5 separate regions of the Homo sapiens genome follow, and all the other regions are linked to region 4. Evidence: promoter capture Hi-C in 16 types of primary human blood cells and fetal thymus (Javierre and others, 2016). All regions are on one chromosome and are shown on one strand. Each heading gives the region's core, a stretch centred on a gene start or on the middle of the fragment in contact. The rest is flanking DNA. Distances are from core to core; before and after follow the strand shown. Region 1 has its middle 3.2 kb from the start of BMP8B. Region 2 overlaps TRIT1 (tRNA isopentenyltransferase 1). Region 3 overlaps TRIT1 (tRNA isopentenyltransferase 1). Region 4 holds the start of CAP1 (cyclase associated actin cytoskeleton regulatory protein 1). Region 5 overlaps MYCL (MYCL proto-oncogene, bHLH transcription factor).

What was found. Contacts are between HindIII fragments. The CHiCAGO score rates a contact against its expected background, and 5 or more counts as called.
Region 1: a contact is called between a fragment that was not itself captured here and the fragment with the promoter of CAP1 in region 4, in 2 of 17 cell types (M0 macrophages and megakaryocytes). The highest score is 6.8, in M0 macrophages.
Region 2: a contact is called between a fragment that was not itself captured here and the fragment with the promoter of CAP1 in region 4, in 1 of 17 cell types (monocytes). The highest score is 5.3, in monocytes.
Region 3: a contact is called between a fragment that was not itself captured here and the fragment with the promoter of CAP1 in region 4, in 1 of 17 cell types (endothelial precursors). The highest score is 5.3, in endothelial precursors.
Region 5: a fragment that was not itself captured here is called in contact with the fragment with the promoter of CAP1 in region 4 in 3 of 17 cell types (M1 macrophages, M2 macrophages and monocytes); the score reaches 6.0 in M1 macrophages.

The regions. Positions count from the first base shown.
Region 1 is chr1:39,790,752-39,793,451 of GRCh38, reverse strand. No RefSeq gene overlaps it. Among named protein-coding and RNA genes, the nearest start is that of BMP8B, 3.2 kb to the right of the region's middle. The HindIII fragment of the contact is 2,562 bases long and covers 151-2,700 here.
Region 2 is chr1:39,874,272-39,876,971 of GRCh38, reverse strand. All of the region lies in intron 1 of TRIT1 (tRNA isopentenyltransferase 1), which reads left to right. Among named protein-coding and RNA genes, the nearest start is that of MYCL-AS1, 7.5 kb to the left of the region's middle. The HindIII fragment of the contact is 5,261 bases long and covers 1-2,700 here.
Region 3 is chr1:39,835,738-39,838,437 of GRCh38, reverse strand. TRIT1 (tRNA isopentenyltransferase 1) reads left to right here. Exons shown (of 11, transcript NM_017646.6): 11 at 1-328. It overlaps LOC105378667 (a long non-coding RNA gene), which reads right to left. Exons shown (of 4, transcript XR_947221.3): 4 at 483-561. Among named protein-coding and RNA genes, the nearest start is that of LINC02811, 20 kb to the right of the region's middle. RefSeq lists a silencer at 1,335-1,535. The HindIII fragment of the contact is 772 bases long and covers 933-1,704 here.
Region 4 is chr1:40,039,325-40,042,024 of GRCh38, reverse strand. It overlaps CAP1 (cyclase associated actin cytoskeleton regulatory protein 1), which reads right to left and starts at 1,296. Exons shown (of 13, transcript NM_006367.4): 1 at 1,224-1,296. LOC105378669 (a long non-coding RNA gene) reads left to right here and starts at 1,579. Exons shown (of 3, transcript XR_001738013.3): 1 at 1,579-2,700. RefSeq lists enhancers at 997-1,086, 1,157-1,356, 1,010-1,644, 1,607-1,676, 1,645-2,278. The HindIII fragment of the contact is 17,502 bases long and covers 1-2,700 here.
Region 5 is chr1:39,893,168-39,895,867 of GRCh38, reverse strand. It overlaps MYCL (MYCL proto-oncogene, bHLH transcription factor), which reads left to right. Exons shown (of 2, transcript NM_001033081.3): 2 at 1-440. All of the region lies in intron 1 of MYCL-AS1 (MYCL antisense RNA 1), which reads right to left. Among named protein-coding and RNA genes, the nearest start is that of MYCL, 7.4 kb to the left of the region's middle. The HindIII fragment of the contact is 183 bases long and covers 1,307-1,489 here.

The sequences.
Region 1 (2,700 bases), core at 182-2,681, 250 kb after region 4:
AGTAGATACGGGGTTTCACCATGTTGGCCAGGCTGGTTTCGAACTCCTGCCCTCAGGTGAATTGCCCGCCTCAGCCTCCCAAAGTGCTGGGAGTACAGGCATTAGCCACTGCGCTCAGGCTTTCCTGTAGCATCTTTCTTATGGAAAGCTTTTCTCTGCTTTTTAAAATTGTTTCTTTTCATTTTCTATATGCAGTAGGTATTAGCAGTCATGAATTTAACCTTATGGTTTCAGTCATGAAGATTCATGGATTTGCATTTGTTGCTGATGTACAAGAGAGCCGGTCACACAGCGAAGAGAGTGAGCCCCACTGGCCACTGACTCCTCACTTTAACACAGCTTGGTGCTTCTGTTCTTCATCCCCGTGAAATAATGAGCACTTCTCAATGGAAGCACTTCTTACTGAGTTCATGAAGGTTGCGAGATCCGTTCCTTGAAGCTGTTGAGAGACTCTTGTTTTCAGAGGCTATTTCAGAGAAACAGAGGCTACTCTGTTTCACACATACTTACTGAAACCCTAAATGCAAGCCTCGCACTGGGATCCAAAGGTAAATTAAGATGATGGTCCCTGCCTGCAGAAGCTCTCAGCCTAGTGCAGGGAACAAACATGTGAATACATGCCCTTTTATTTTGTAAAAGGAGTGGTTGAGAGAGTGAGGAAGGAAGAAATGGCTCTGCTCATGAAGGTGAAGAGGGCATCAGGAAAAGGAGGTGTTACTTCAACTGCATCTTAAAGGGAGGTAACACCTGACCAGACAGGGAAAGGGGTTTCCCTTCTTGGTACAGGAAACCACATGTTCAGGTGAACAGAAGTGTCAACAGGAGGACAGGTAGGAGGACCACAAGTATTCCCATGGGACTGCAGCCAAGTATATGGGGTTAGCAGCCAGATAAGACTGTGGAGATTGGCCAGGCGCGGTGGCTCACACCTGTAATCCCAGCACTTTGGGAGGCCAAGGCGGGCGGATCATGAGGTCAGGAGATTGAGACCATCCTGGCTAACACAGTGAAACCCTGTCTCTACTAAAAATGCAAAAAAAAAAAAAAATATATTAGCCAGGCGTGGTGGCGGGCGCCTGTAGTCCCAGCTACTAGGGAGGCTGAGGCAGGAGAATGGCGTGAACCCGGGAGGTGGAGCTTGCAGTGAGCCGAGACTGCGCCACTGCACTGTAGCCTGGGCGACAGAGCAAGACTCCGTCTCAAAAACAAAAACAAAACAAAACAAAAAAACTGTGGAGATGGGTCAGCAGCAGGGGCCAGGTGATGATGCCAGACCACTGGGTCCTGGGCGCTTATCACCTTGTGCCTTGCTGGTCCCCAAGATGTGGTCCTCAAAAAACTAAAAAGCTATAGTCACATGCATTTGGAAGAAGCCAAGTTAAGGCTAAACAGGTTTTTATTTATTTATTTATTTAATTTACTTATTTATTTATTTTTACTGCAGGATTTCTAGAGCTTACAAAGTGCTAAGTGCATGAGGGCTCTACCAAGGGGGAAATATATAGCGCAGTGTGTACTGAACCCCTTTTGCAGGAAAGCCCTCAGAATCCTCACCTGGGGAAATTCTGCTGTAAGCAATGAAAGGCCATGGAAGGATTCAGATTTTCATTTGGAAATATGCATTCTGCGGAATGAGTGAGGGCTGGGTGGGGTGGGTAGTGAGATGAGACATAAGGAGACCAGTGGGGAGGAGGTGCTCCATGAAACACCTGAGTGCAAAGGGGCGTGCACAGGCTCAGGGATTCAAGAGGCATTTGAAGGTAGAATCAATAGACTGAACTGCCCTTGGGAGGGAGGGACGTGTGTCTGCGCCAGGGTTTTGGCTTCTGGCTCTGGTCATGTCTTATCGGTCATTGGATGTAGCTTCTGGCATCTAGCAGGAAGGCCTGCCCTACTAATATATTTGGAGTTGGGTGTGACTGTATGGCGGCACTGAAGCCTCAGTGGATGAGCTCATCACCAGGTCAAGTCTAAGGGGAGAACAGGACTGTGGACAGACCCAGCAGACATCCATGTTTTAGAAGTGGGCAGGGAGGAGTGGTCAGCAAGGGAGCAGGCGTCCTTGAAGCCAGGGGAGGACAGGGTTTCAAAAACAAGAGAGCAGTGTGTAGTAACCCTCCACATGCAAGTTACAACAGCAGAGAGGTTTTCATCTATCAAACCAGCAGAGATTGATTTATTTATGTATTTAACAGTTATATCTAGTGTTGGTAAGGGTGATAGAAAATAAGCACCCTCGTGCTATTGGGGCAACAGATAATATGTATCAAAAACCATAAAAAGTGTATATGCTCTTTGATTCAAATATTCCATCTCTAGACGCCTGTAATCCCAGCACTTTGGGAAGCTGGGGTGGGCAGATCACCTGAGCCCAGGAGTTCAAGACTAGCCTGTCCAACATGGCAAAACCCTGTGTATACTAAAAATACAAAAATTAGCCAGGCATGGTGGTGCACGCCTGTAATCCCAGCTGCTCAGGGGGCTGAGGCACAAAGACCACTTGAGGCGGAGGCTGCAGTGAGCCAAGATCATACCATTGCACTCCAGCCTGGGTGACAGAGCAAGACTCCATCTCAAAAAAAAAAAAAAAAAATCCATCTCTAGAAATTCATCCTAAAGAAATCACCATGGATGTGCACAGATTATTCTACAAGATTGTTCATAACAACATAGTATATAATATAAAAATATAATTATCCC
Region 2 (2,700 bases), core at 21-2,520, 170 kb after region 4:
CACAACTGACAAAGGCAGTCCTTTTTTTTTTGTTTTTTTTTTTTGAGATGGAGTCTTGCTGTGTCACCCAGGCTGGAGTGCAGTGACTCCATCTCGGCCCACTGCAACCTAAGCCTCCCAAGTTCTAGCCATTCTCCTGCCTCAGCCTCCTGAGTAGCTGGGACTACAGGCGCCCGCCACCACGCCTGGCTAATTTTTTGTATTTTTAGTAGAGACAGGGTTTCACCGTGTTAGCCAGGATGGTCTCAATCTCCTGACCTCAGGTGATCCGCCAGCCTCGGCCTCTCAAAGTGCTGTGATTACAAGCGTGAGCCACTGCACCCAGCCAAAGGCAGTCTTTTAGAAGGACTGAGACTTACAAGAGGCTAAAAAGGAAATCTCAAAATTTTCGACTCATCATTCATATATATATATAGATAGATAGATAGATAGATAGATAGATACACATATAAATAATGAGTTTCTAGGTCCCTTGGTTCACCTCCATTGTAAGTGAATTTAGTTTTCTTTTGGCTGCAGTATTAAGCTGTGTATGTTGTACATATGTGGTCATGTTTTTGCACCTACAGGGAGAACTTTGGAGTCAAATCTGTGTTATATAAGGAAGGAGAAGTGACTACTGGCCAAACAGGAAACCATAGGAGAGCACAGATGAGGCTTGCAGATTCAGATTCATGAGGATGAGTGCTACCCTGATGTTTCAGTGCCTGAGGCAGGGTGTTGAAGCAGCTCCACTTCAAAAAGATATATTTGAGGAGTAAAAGTTACTTGGGGTATATAGGAATTCACATATGTGCTCCATTATGATTTAATGGAATTGGTTTTGTTTTTCTGTGTAGTTTTGGATTCCTCAGAAACTTGAATCAGACCAGGACCCTGTTGGCCTCTTGATCCCTTTGGGGCTCTGCTTGTGAGTAGCAGCCTCCCTGTACCTCCCTCATTGTGGCAGTCAGAGTTCAAGCCCTCATTACAGGAATGATCATAATAATTATACTACTGAAGATAATAGCAAGAATAATATATATGTCAGGCAGTTCTAAAAGTTTGACAAATATTATCTAATATCCTTACCGTAGCCTTTTGCCGTGGGTGCTGTTATTGTCTCCTCCCTACCAAAAATTACTTTATTAAATCCTCATCTCCATGCTGTTTTATACTTTTTCCTCTAACTCTTATTTATTTATTCATTCATCCTCCATCCCATTCTTTTCCTCTGTACCACTGTGTACATTTTATCAAGCAGAAAAGTGGGAAGAATAATATTACTGACAAAAGAACAGTATGGGCAAAGTTAAGAAAATGCATGGTATGTTTTCAAGGAATGACCAGCAACTATCTGGCATAGAGGGTACTTGAGGGACAGTGGTAGGAGGTAAAACTAAAAATATAGACCCTGGGAACAAATTTTTGAGGCCCTCAAAAGTCATGCCATGAGGTTTGAGGTTTTAAAGAGGGAAGTGGTAGTAAGTCTATTTTTTTTTTTCAAGACAGAGTCTCGCTCTGTCACCCAGGCTGGAGTGCAGTGGCGCAATCTCAGCTCACTGCAACCTCCACCTCCCGGGTTCAAGCAAGTCTCCTGCCTTAGCCTCCTGAGTAGCTGGGATTACAGACGCATGCCACCACGCCTGGCTAATTTTTGTATTTTTGGTAGAGACAGGGTTTCACCATGTTGGTCAGGCTGGTCTCGAACTCCTGACCTCGTGATCTGCCCACCTCGGGCTCCCAAAGGGTTGGAATTACAGGCGTGAGCCACTGCACCTGGCCTGTAAATCTATTTTATGAAGTAACTGGGTGGAGAGTGGGTTAGAGAAGGAAAAACAGTTTAGGATTCTGTTACATTAGTCTGGGTGAGAGAGGCTGGAGTTGGGCTTTGGCTGGAGAGAATAGGTAACCATTTTGATATTTTGTAAACAGAACCAACAGGATTTTGGTTATTGAATTGGAAGCACTATGAAAAAAATGAGAACAAAGCATTTTTGTGTTCAGAAAAATGAGACATGCGGGGGCCGGGCACAGTGGCTCACGCCTATAATTCCAGCACTTTGGGAGGCTGAGGCGGGCAGATCACCTGAGGTCAGGAGCTCGAGACCAGCCTGACCAACATGGAGAAACCCTATCTCCACTAAAAATACAAAAAAATTAGTCAAGCATGGTGGTGCATGCCTGTAATCTCAGCTACTCAGGAGACTAAGGCAGGAGAATCACTTGAACCCAGGAGGCGGAGGTTGCAGTGAGCCGAGATCACGCCATTGCACTCCAGCCTGGGCAACAAGAGCGAAACTCCATCTCAAAAAAAAAAAGAAAAGAAAAATGAGACATGCTTATTAAAAAAATCCAATAATACTGAAAAGTACAGAGACAATTTAACCATAGTCTTAGCATCCTGGAGTAATGATTTTGGTTCACATCCTTCCAGACATTTGTATATATATTTAAGCACATGTGTCATGTGTGTATATGTTATTACATAAATTGACTCAGAGGTTAGATACTATTCTATTTTCTTTTAACACTATGTTATGGATATCTTTATATGTTAATGTATATAGCTATATCAGTAGTCTCAACTTGGGGTGATTTGGCCTCCTAGGGGACGTTTGGCAATCCCTGGAGACATTTTTGGTTCTAATAACTGGGGAGGTGGGTTCCTGGCATCTAATGGGTAGAGGCCAGAGACATTGCTAACATTCTAGTAGGCAC
Region 3 (2,700 bases), core at 69-2,568, 200 kb after region 4:
ATCAACCTTTTATGAATGCAGTGACTTGTCAATATCCCTAGCACCTAGACACAGTCAAATATTTGTTGAATCAATTGCATGAAAGCATAAAAACTAAGTAGGTCTCTACATAAGTGATCTGCTTCAATTGTTAAATACTTTTTAACCAGGATGAAGAAATTTTGGGATAGCCACCAGCAGGAATTTCTGTATTTGATTATCACCTACTTGGGCAGTTAAGGCTGTTTTCTAAAATGATGGCTAACTGGTTATTTGTAAAGCTACTCTGAATGCTTACAAAGGAAGCTGCATGTTTGTATTAGTTCAGGTAAAAGGCTAAGTTGCTATAACAAAGAGACTCAACAATACAGTGGCTTAAAGAACAAAGAAGTTTATTCTTTCTCACGTAACAGCTCTGAAGGGAATTAACCTGTCTGAAGTGAGTGATCCAGGTCATTGGGGCAGCTGTGCACCAAATGGTCATTCAGGGACACAGATTCCTCGTATCATGTTGCTTCTCCATCCTCTGGAGCATTGTCCTCATCTGCTGCATGCTTGAAGCTGGGTCATCACTGGTCCTAGCTGATGGGAAGGGGAAAAGGAACAGGGAGGAGGTAGACCCGCTGCCTCAAGGCCTGGACCCTGCAGTGGCACGGATACTTCTGCCTACATTCTCACTTTCCATTGGCAATGACTTAGCCCGATGGCCACACCTACCTGCCAGGAAGGCTGAGAAACGTAGTCAAGCCATGTGCCAAGAAGGAATGGGAGGACAGGTTTTGGTGGGCAACTTACAGTCACCACTAGATTGGTATCATGGAAGGAGCACTCAATTCCAGGCTCATTTAACTAATTAATTTAACTCAGTTTGCTAGGGGCAAATCTATTTCTCCATCTGTGAAATTAGTGAGTTGTATTGAGCTGACCTCTGAAATATTTCAAAAAGTAAAGCTTGAGAAAATCCTGGCTGGTAGGACTTTAAGATGAGAATAAGAAAGCATTATAGGGAATGGGAGACTGTATAAACATCAGGGCCAGTGGCTCATACTGTAAAGATGGTGGGGAGGAAAGATGGAAGGTGTTTTGGTGGCATTGTTGAATAACTGAACTAATGACTTAACTGCCTACTTTCAGACTTTATGTGGCAGGGAGGGGACAGGGGGAGAAAGAAACCACTATTTGTATTTGCAGCTGAACACTTTACTTTCTAATATACTATCTGTGTGATCTTGGGAATATTGCTTAAAAGCCTGTTTCCTCATGTATAAAATGAAGTTATCTGTATTCCACGGGACATGGTAAGGATTAAGTGAGGTCCTGTTGTAAATAGCATAGTGTTTTGGCACTGTAGTGCCCAGTAAATGGTAAGTACAAATTGGATTTATTTGCTTCATTGGGGAAAAATTGTTAATGCTATTAAAATGTTGGTTTATGATATGGTATCATTTCTTGGAAGTTATCAGGGCAAGCTCTGACTTAAGACTGACTAGTTTGGTGGACTATAGTACTAATGGCCAGAAACGGTGCCTCGGGCTTCAGCTGCCACCCACCTAGGCTTCAGCTGTTAAGTTTTGTTTGTTTCAATGATATGATTTCTTCCATGGGTCAGCTCATTTGCTTGAACTGTTTTCTTCCCTTGAAATGTCCTTTCCCCTGCTCTTTACCTAGTGAACTCCTGCACATCCTTCAAGGCCCAGATCTGATGTCCTCTCCTTAGAAAAAGCTTCTTTGACTCTAGGGAGACTTAATTTCTCCTCCTAGCAGTTAATACGTAATAGTGTTAACATTAGCTGGTGCTTAGGTAGTCCTATGAGCTAGGCACTGCTTTAAGCACTTTTACACATATTAACTCATTTAATCCTCACAAAGCCCTATGAGGTAGTTTTGTCATTGTTCTTGTTGTCTCTGTCTTACAACTGAGGAAACTGAGTAGAGCAGTTAGGTGACTTTCCCAAGGGCAAGCTGGGATTTGAAAATAGGTGGGTGGCTCCAGAGTCTGTTCTGGCTCATTATTTTGCCACAGCTCATAGCACCTGTTATTTATCTCTTGTTCCCACTGGAAAGTAAATTCTGCCAGGATCTGAGTACTATTTTAAGATGATTGTGGAACATATAGTGGGCACCCAATGTATATCGAGGCTAATTTCTGCAAGACACACCTCCCTGTCTAAACGTAGACATGGCTTCTCTGTGTTGAGTGCTTCTGTGTGTCAGGCATTATATCAAGCACATGCATACGTTATAATGATTCCTTAAAACAAACGGACAAGATAATCTGTTATCACCATTTTATAAACACAGCTTAATGAACAGTGGTTGGCACAGAGTAAACATGCAAATATTTGCCGAGTAGCAGAGATAAAGCTTGGTGAGGGCAGCGATGTTTGTCTGTTGTTCACTGCTTTATCCCTGGCATCTACAAGGGCCTGCTGCTTAAAAGCACTTATTTGTGTTTTTGTTTTTTTACTTGAAGTCAGCCTTTTATTTTTATCCAGATTTATTGAGATATAATCGACAGATAAAATTATATATATTTAAACTATATAAAGTGATTTTATATATGTGTATATATGTATGTGTGTATCTATCTATCTATCTATCTATCTATCTGTCTATCCATCTATCTATCTATACCACCATCAAGTTAGTTAACACATCCCATAAACATTTGTTGAGCTAGGATTTGAAGCCAGTTTGGGCTGACTCCAAACTCATACTCTA
Region 4 (2,700 bases), core at 47-2,546:
TGGTAAATGATAAATGTGCTGATATGCCCCCGGATTTTCTCTTGAAGAGAGAGCCCCACAAAGAGCTTCAACTGACACAGTTCTGATGCTAACCTGTCTCAAATGTTCTCATTCCACTCTTCGAACGCATTCCTATTTATCCTTCAAAATTCATCTTAAAAACTCTGCTTCTTCAGAAGGGCTTTTCCTGAACCCCCTGTTACATACTTTCAGAGCACCCTGTTCTTTCCTAACACTCATCAACATTTATAATTACTTCTTAAACATCCCTGCAAACACTGCTAGCTCCACGCGGGCAGGGTCTACATTGTTTTGTTTTAAAGCTGCATTCCCCGCATCTGGGAAAATGCTGGCACAGAATAAACACAATTTGTTACGCTGAATTTAATCTTGTGGGGTCAGCAGAGATCTCCACTTAAAAGATGAACAAAAGGAGGCTGAAAGAAGTTTAAGGCACCTATGGCCACAGACACTCAGCACTGAGGCCAGACCAAACCTGAGCCGTCTGATTTCAGGTCCAGAAGTACATACCTTCAATGTTAGCCTGGCTTGTCAAAGTAAGAGCAGCAGCCGAGGAGGAAAGGGAGGATATCTGCCTGTAAATACAAGGATGTGCCCGCCTTTCTTTTAAAAACTCCCTAGGCATTTCAAACGGCTCAATTTGGGAGGAGAGAAAAAAAAAAGTTCCACGCAGCGCTGGCCTTTAACCTGCAGCAGCCTGCGGGGCAACACCGACCGGAAGACCATCCCAAGTTAGAGAGGTTCCGAGCAACACGGGAAGAACTGGGGCTGGTTATCTAAGGCACCAGGATCATGATTCCGATTCTTTTCCTCACTCGCTATATATCTCAGACTAGCCTCTTCTCTAGGGATCAATTTACCTATCAGTGCAATGGGAGCATCAACAGGAGACAGGGAAGACTCTCCGATCTCGGAGGTTCCTTCCAGTCAGAGCACCTCAGGAATCAGGCCTCCGCTGAAGCTGATGGGCAGCGCTGCGAAATCGGGCAGAGGGGCCTCCCCGGGGCACCCGGACTCAGCTGCTCACCCCGGCCCCACCTCAAGAGACCGCGCCCAAGAGTCCGGGTCGGCCTGAGGGCCTCAGCCCCGGCCCTCTCGGCAGGGTTCATGACACGCGCGTAGGCCAGAAGGGCCATTAACACCACCAGGGGCCGATGGGCCCCGGAAGGGACCCCAATCCCTACCAAGCTGCACACCCTCACCTCAGAGTTCCGCCTCACCTCCGGACTGCGATCAGCCGCTCTCCGCTTCCGGCAAGAACCGCCCAGCAATCTCCGCGCGACCCACTTCCGGGCCCTCACTGGGCGCGGCGCCCCCACCGGAAATGAGCCGCCGGCTGAAGCGCTAGGCTGGCCCGCGACTGGGCAGGAAGTCTCACCGCCCCGCTCGTGACTCCGCCCCTCTTCGCCACGCCCCGGAGAGAGCGGCCCGGCTCTCACAGAGGGCACTTGGGAAAGAGCCCCGCCCTCAAGGCGGGAGCGACACGGGGAGGGCGGGCTCACAAGAGAGGCCACGCCCTCGTTCCGCTTTACCTACCCGGAATCGCCCCCGAGGCCCGGGCCCAGGAAGGGCAGAAGTCCCTGGCTAAGCTCCTCTCTGGAAAGAACAGAAGAGTGACCAGTTCCTCTGTCAGTTTGGTCTCAATGGCAGAGGCCGGTTCCTTTAAGCTGCAGTCCGTAAAGGGTCTTGGAACGACTGGGGGCCAGGATTCTCTGAGGGCGGGAATCCGGGCGGCCGTCAGCTCTCGGTGGTGATCGAGGCCACGCTCCGCCTGTCTCTGGGCGTGCATACCTCGGTTTCCCCGTTTGTGACGTGGGAAGGCAATTAGTCTGGACATTGTTGTGGGAGGACTTGCGGAGACTGGGCGCAGGGCGTGGGGGTCAGTGAGGGCGCGGTGGGTCAGCCCCAGCCCGGCTGGCAGTCGCGGGGCTGGGAAGGTAGGGAACCCTCCGCTCTCACCCCACTTCCTGTTTGGTCGGTGTGTTCTGTGACCATAGATGGTCAAGTCTGGGGCCGCGCGGAAGCCTCCGCCCTGTGGTTTTGGAGCCCTTCCTCCCGGCGCGCAGGGTGTGGTCCCCGAGAATAAGATGAGCAGAATTAAAGCAGATCCTGCACCCACTCTGCTGAAATCCGGCTTCTGAGGCAGCCTCGCCCAGGGCTGGGTGGGCTCAGGCGGCTGCTACTCGGTTCAGGGGAGGTTACGCACGGTGGCTGCCGCGCGCAGGGGAGGCTTCGCTTCCGTACTCCTTGGGCCGGGAGATCCGATCTTTGTTCCCTCAAGACTCACACTCTCCAACCGGTCATTATCCTCCCACAAAGATTTATTTCTAGAAAAAATTGGCAAGTGCCACAGTTCCCGCCCCTTCAGCTGAACGACTGTGACAGCTCCGTGTTTCAAGTTGAATGCAGGCGTTATGTGCCAGAGTCAATCATTCAACAAATAAAGTTCTTAAAATAACAGCTACCATTTACTGCACGCTGACTACTTGCCAGGCCCATGCTGAGTTCTTCAAGCGTATTTTCATTTACTCCTAATAGCAACTCTCGGTGGTAGGTACCATTATGCCCTCTAGTTTTCAAATGAGGAAGCTGAATAACTTGCCAAGGTCAGAAAGTAACTGTTGAAACTTTGAAGGAAACACATCTGTCTGACTCTAAATCCCATGAGCTTAATTAGCC
Region 5 (2,700 bases), core at 149-2,648, 150 kb after region 4:
ATCTATTGTCCATAATGGTTTCTTTCTGAGGTTGCTTCTTGGCCTCAGAGGACCCCAGGGGATGTTTGGAAATAGCCTCTCTACCCTTCTGGAGCATGGTTTACAAAAGCCAGCTGACTTCTGGAATTGTCTATGGAGGACAGTTTGGGTGTAGGTTACTGATGTCTCAACTGAATAGCTTGTGTTTTATAAGCTGCTGTTGGCTATTATGCTGGGGGAGTCTTTTTTTTTTATATTGTATTTTTGTATGCCTTTTGCAAAGTGGTGTTAACTGTTTTTGTACAAGGAAAAAAACTCTTGGGGCAATTTCCTGTTGCAAGGGTCTGATTTATTTTGAAAGGCAAGTTCACCTGAAATTTTGTATTTAGTTGTGATTACTGATTGCCTGATTTTAAAATGTTGCCTTCTGGGACATCTTCTAATAAAAGATTTCTCAAACATGTCAGAGTGGGGGCAGCTTATGCCACCTGAGTCCTCCTCAACCACGGAAAACTATTTCAGGGTAGCCACAAGTGATCCAGAGGGCTGCACTTCTCTAACCATGTTGCTAACCTGGTCATTCCACTCTGGGTTCCTGAAATGCCATTTCAGACATGTTGAAACAATGTAGGCTCAGTACTCAGTGAACACGGAATTCTCTTGTGAATTGCAAAGAGTGCTGAATTTGTACTTTAGAAGGCTTGAAATCCTGGCTCCACCACTTCTGCAGCCTTTAGTTTCATCTTTCTGAGTCCTAGTTTCCTTATCGGTAAAATGGGGATAAATGCTACTTCACTGGGTTTTTGCAGGTATTAAATGAAGGGGTAGACTTAAAACTGCTTTCTAAACTATAAAGCCTTATACTCTTTAGGATGGTGTTATTCTTATCTTAGTGGTATGATGACCTTCTGCAAGATGTCTTTTAAAGTTTTTTTCTGAGAATTTATGTTGCAATGTACTTTTTTCTTACAGAAAGATAGTTTTAAAATTCTTTCTCCTGGCTGGGTGCAGTGGCTTATGCCTGTAATCCCAGCACTTTGCGAGGCTGAGGCAGGCAGACTGCTTGAGCTCAGGAGTTCAAGACCAGCCTGGGCAACATGGCAAAAACCCATGTCTACAAAAAATACAAAAATTAGCCAGGCATGGTGGTACACGCCTGTAGTCCCAACTACTCGGGAGGCTGAGGTGGGAGGATGGCTTGAGCCTGGGAGGCAGAGGTTGCAGTGAGCCAAGATTGCGCCACTGCACTCCAGCCTGGGCAACAGAGCCAGACCCTGTCTCAAAAAAAACATTCTTCCTCCTTAATTAATGAAAGAAAGTTTAAGCTTCATTTTCCTCCCATAGTTCTCATAAACTTGCTGTAAATGCAAGACAGGGGAATTCAGTAATAGCTGTTCCTCATAGGGCACTGCTTATGTCTGAACACTCTGCCATATCAACCATGTGTCAGGGCTACAGATGAAGAAACTGAGGTTCTAAGAGTAAACAAAGCTATGCAAATTCACAAGCTTGTAATTCAGTTGTGATTTGAAACCAGCTCTGCCTATCTCCAGAGCAAGAGGTCTTAGTCACTATATTATGATGATCAGCTTGTTTGTTAGCACGGGGTATGTGGAGAAGGTAAACGTGGAATTCCGTCATTTAACTGCTTGTTGTAACTCTCTTTGGGGCTATTGTGCCTGCCACTTATTGGGATGAAATGGAGCAAATGTCCCATGACCAGCAACTCTGAGGCATATGTGTGCTGGGTGGCATAGTCTTGCTGCAAAGGGGCCCCATCTGGGACTGAAAAGCAATCAGTTGCTGTTCAGGATGGCCATGAGCATCATGGTGAAAGAAGCCTCCACTAACTCCTCCTTACAGATGGGACTTGGGTTGGTATTGCCCACCCGAATTCCTATGGAGCCTCAGTACGGTCAAAAAGCTCCTCTTAATTCCTCACATTTACAAAATGACCCTCTTGTGACCCTCCAACCTGGTAAGTAAGCAATATCTGCCTGATGGTACTGGAGCCCAGAGAGTTTTCTTGCTCAAAGTCATAGCAAAATCAGGATTCCAAGCCCAGTCTCCTATCAGGTAAGCTTTTTCCACTTGTCCCCCACTGCACATAGGTAACACACTTAGAACCTAAGAAACTGTTTGGTAAAACTGACATGGATTATTGGAACTCTTTTCTTAAAACTCCCAGTGTATTTTTCTTCCTTTTTTGAGGCCATTAGTCAAGGGTCTGGTTTGTAGGACGTATCTCCCTTTACTGGACCTTGAAAGAATTCAATAAAAATTTTTGAAAGCACTTAGTACAATAGTATGGACCCATGGGTACAGGCATGAATGTTAGTAGTTTTGCATATCTTAATTCTTACAATAACTTGGAGAGCAGGATGCTGTCAGCCCCATTTCACAGAAAAGCCAACTGAAGCTCAGAGACATTTAAGTTGTTTGCCTAAGCCCACACACCTAGTACCAGCTGCCTGACTCCAAGCTTCAGCTCTTTTGAGTCAACTCTGCTGAGAAAGGAGTGGGAATAAAGCCATCTCCTGGGGGAAGGGAGGGTGTTTCTGGAATGCGAAGTATTTTAAGCTCCTTCCTAGCTCTTTTCTACAGACTCCTACCTCTATCTTTGTCTGAAAATAGTCAGGAGTTTATTCCTGGATTTCAGAGGACAATTTCTACAAATTAGGTTTGCCTCTGAATAATGCACCTAAGGGATCACACTCCCAA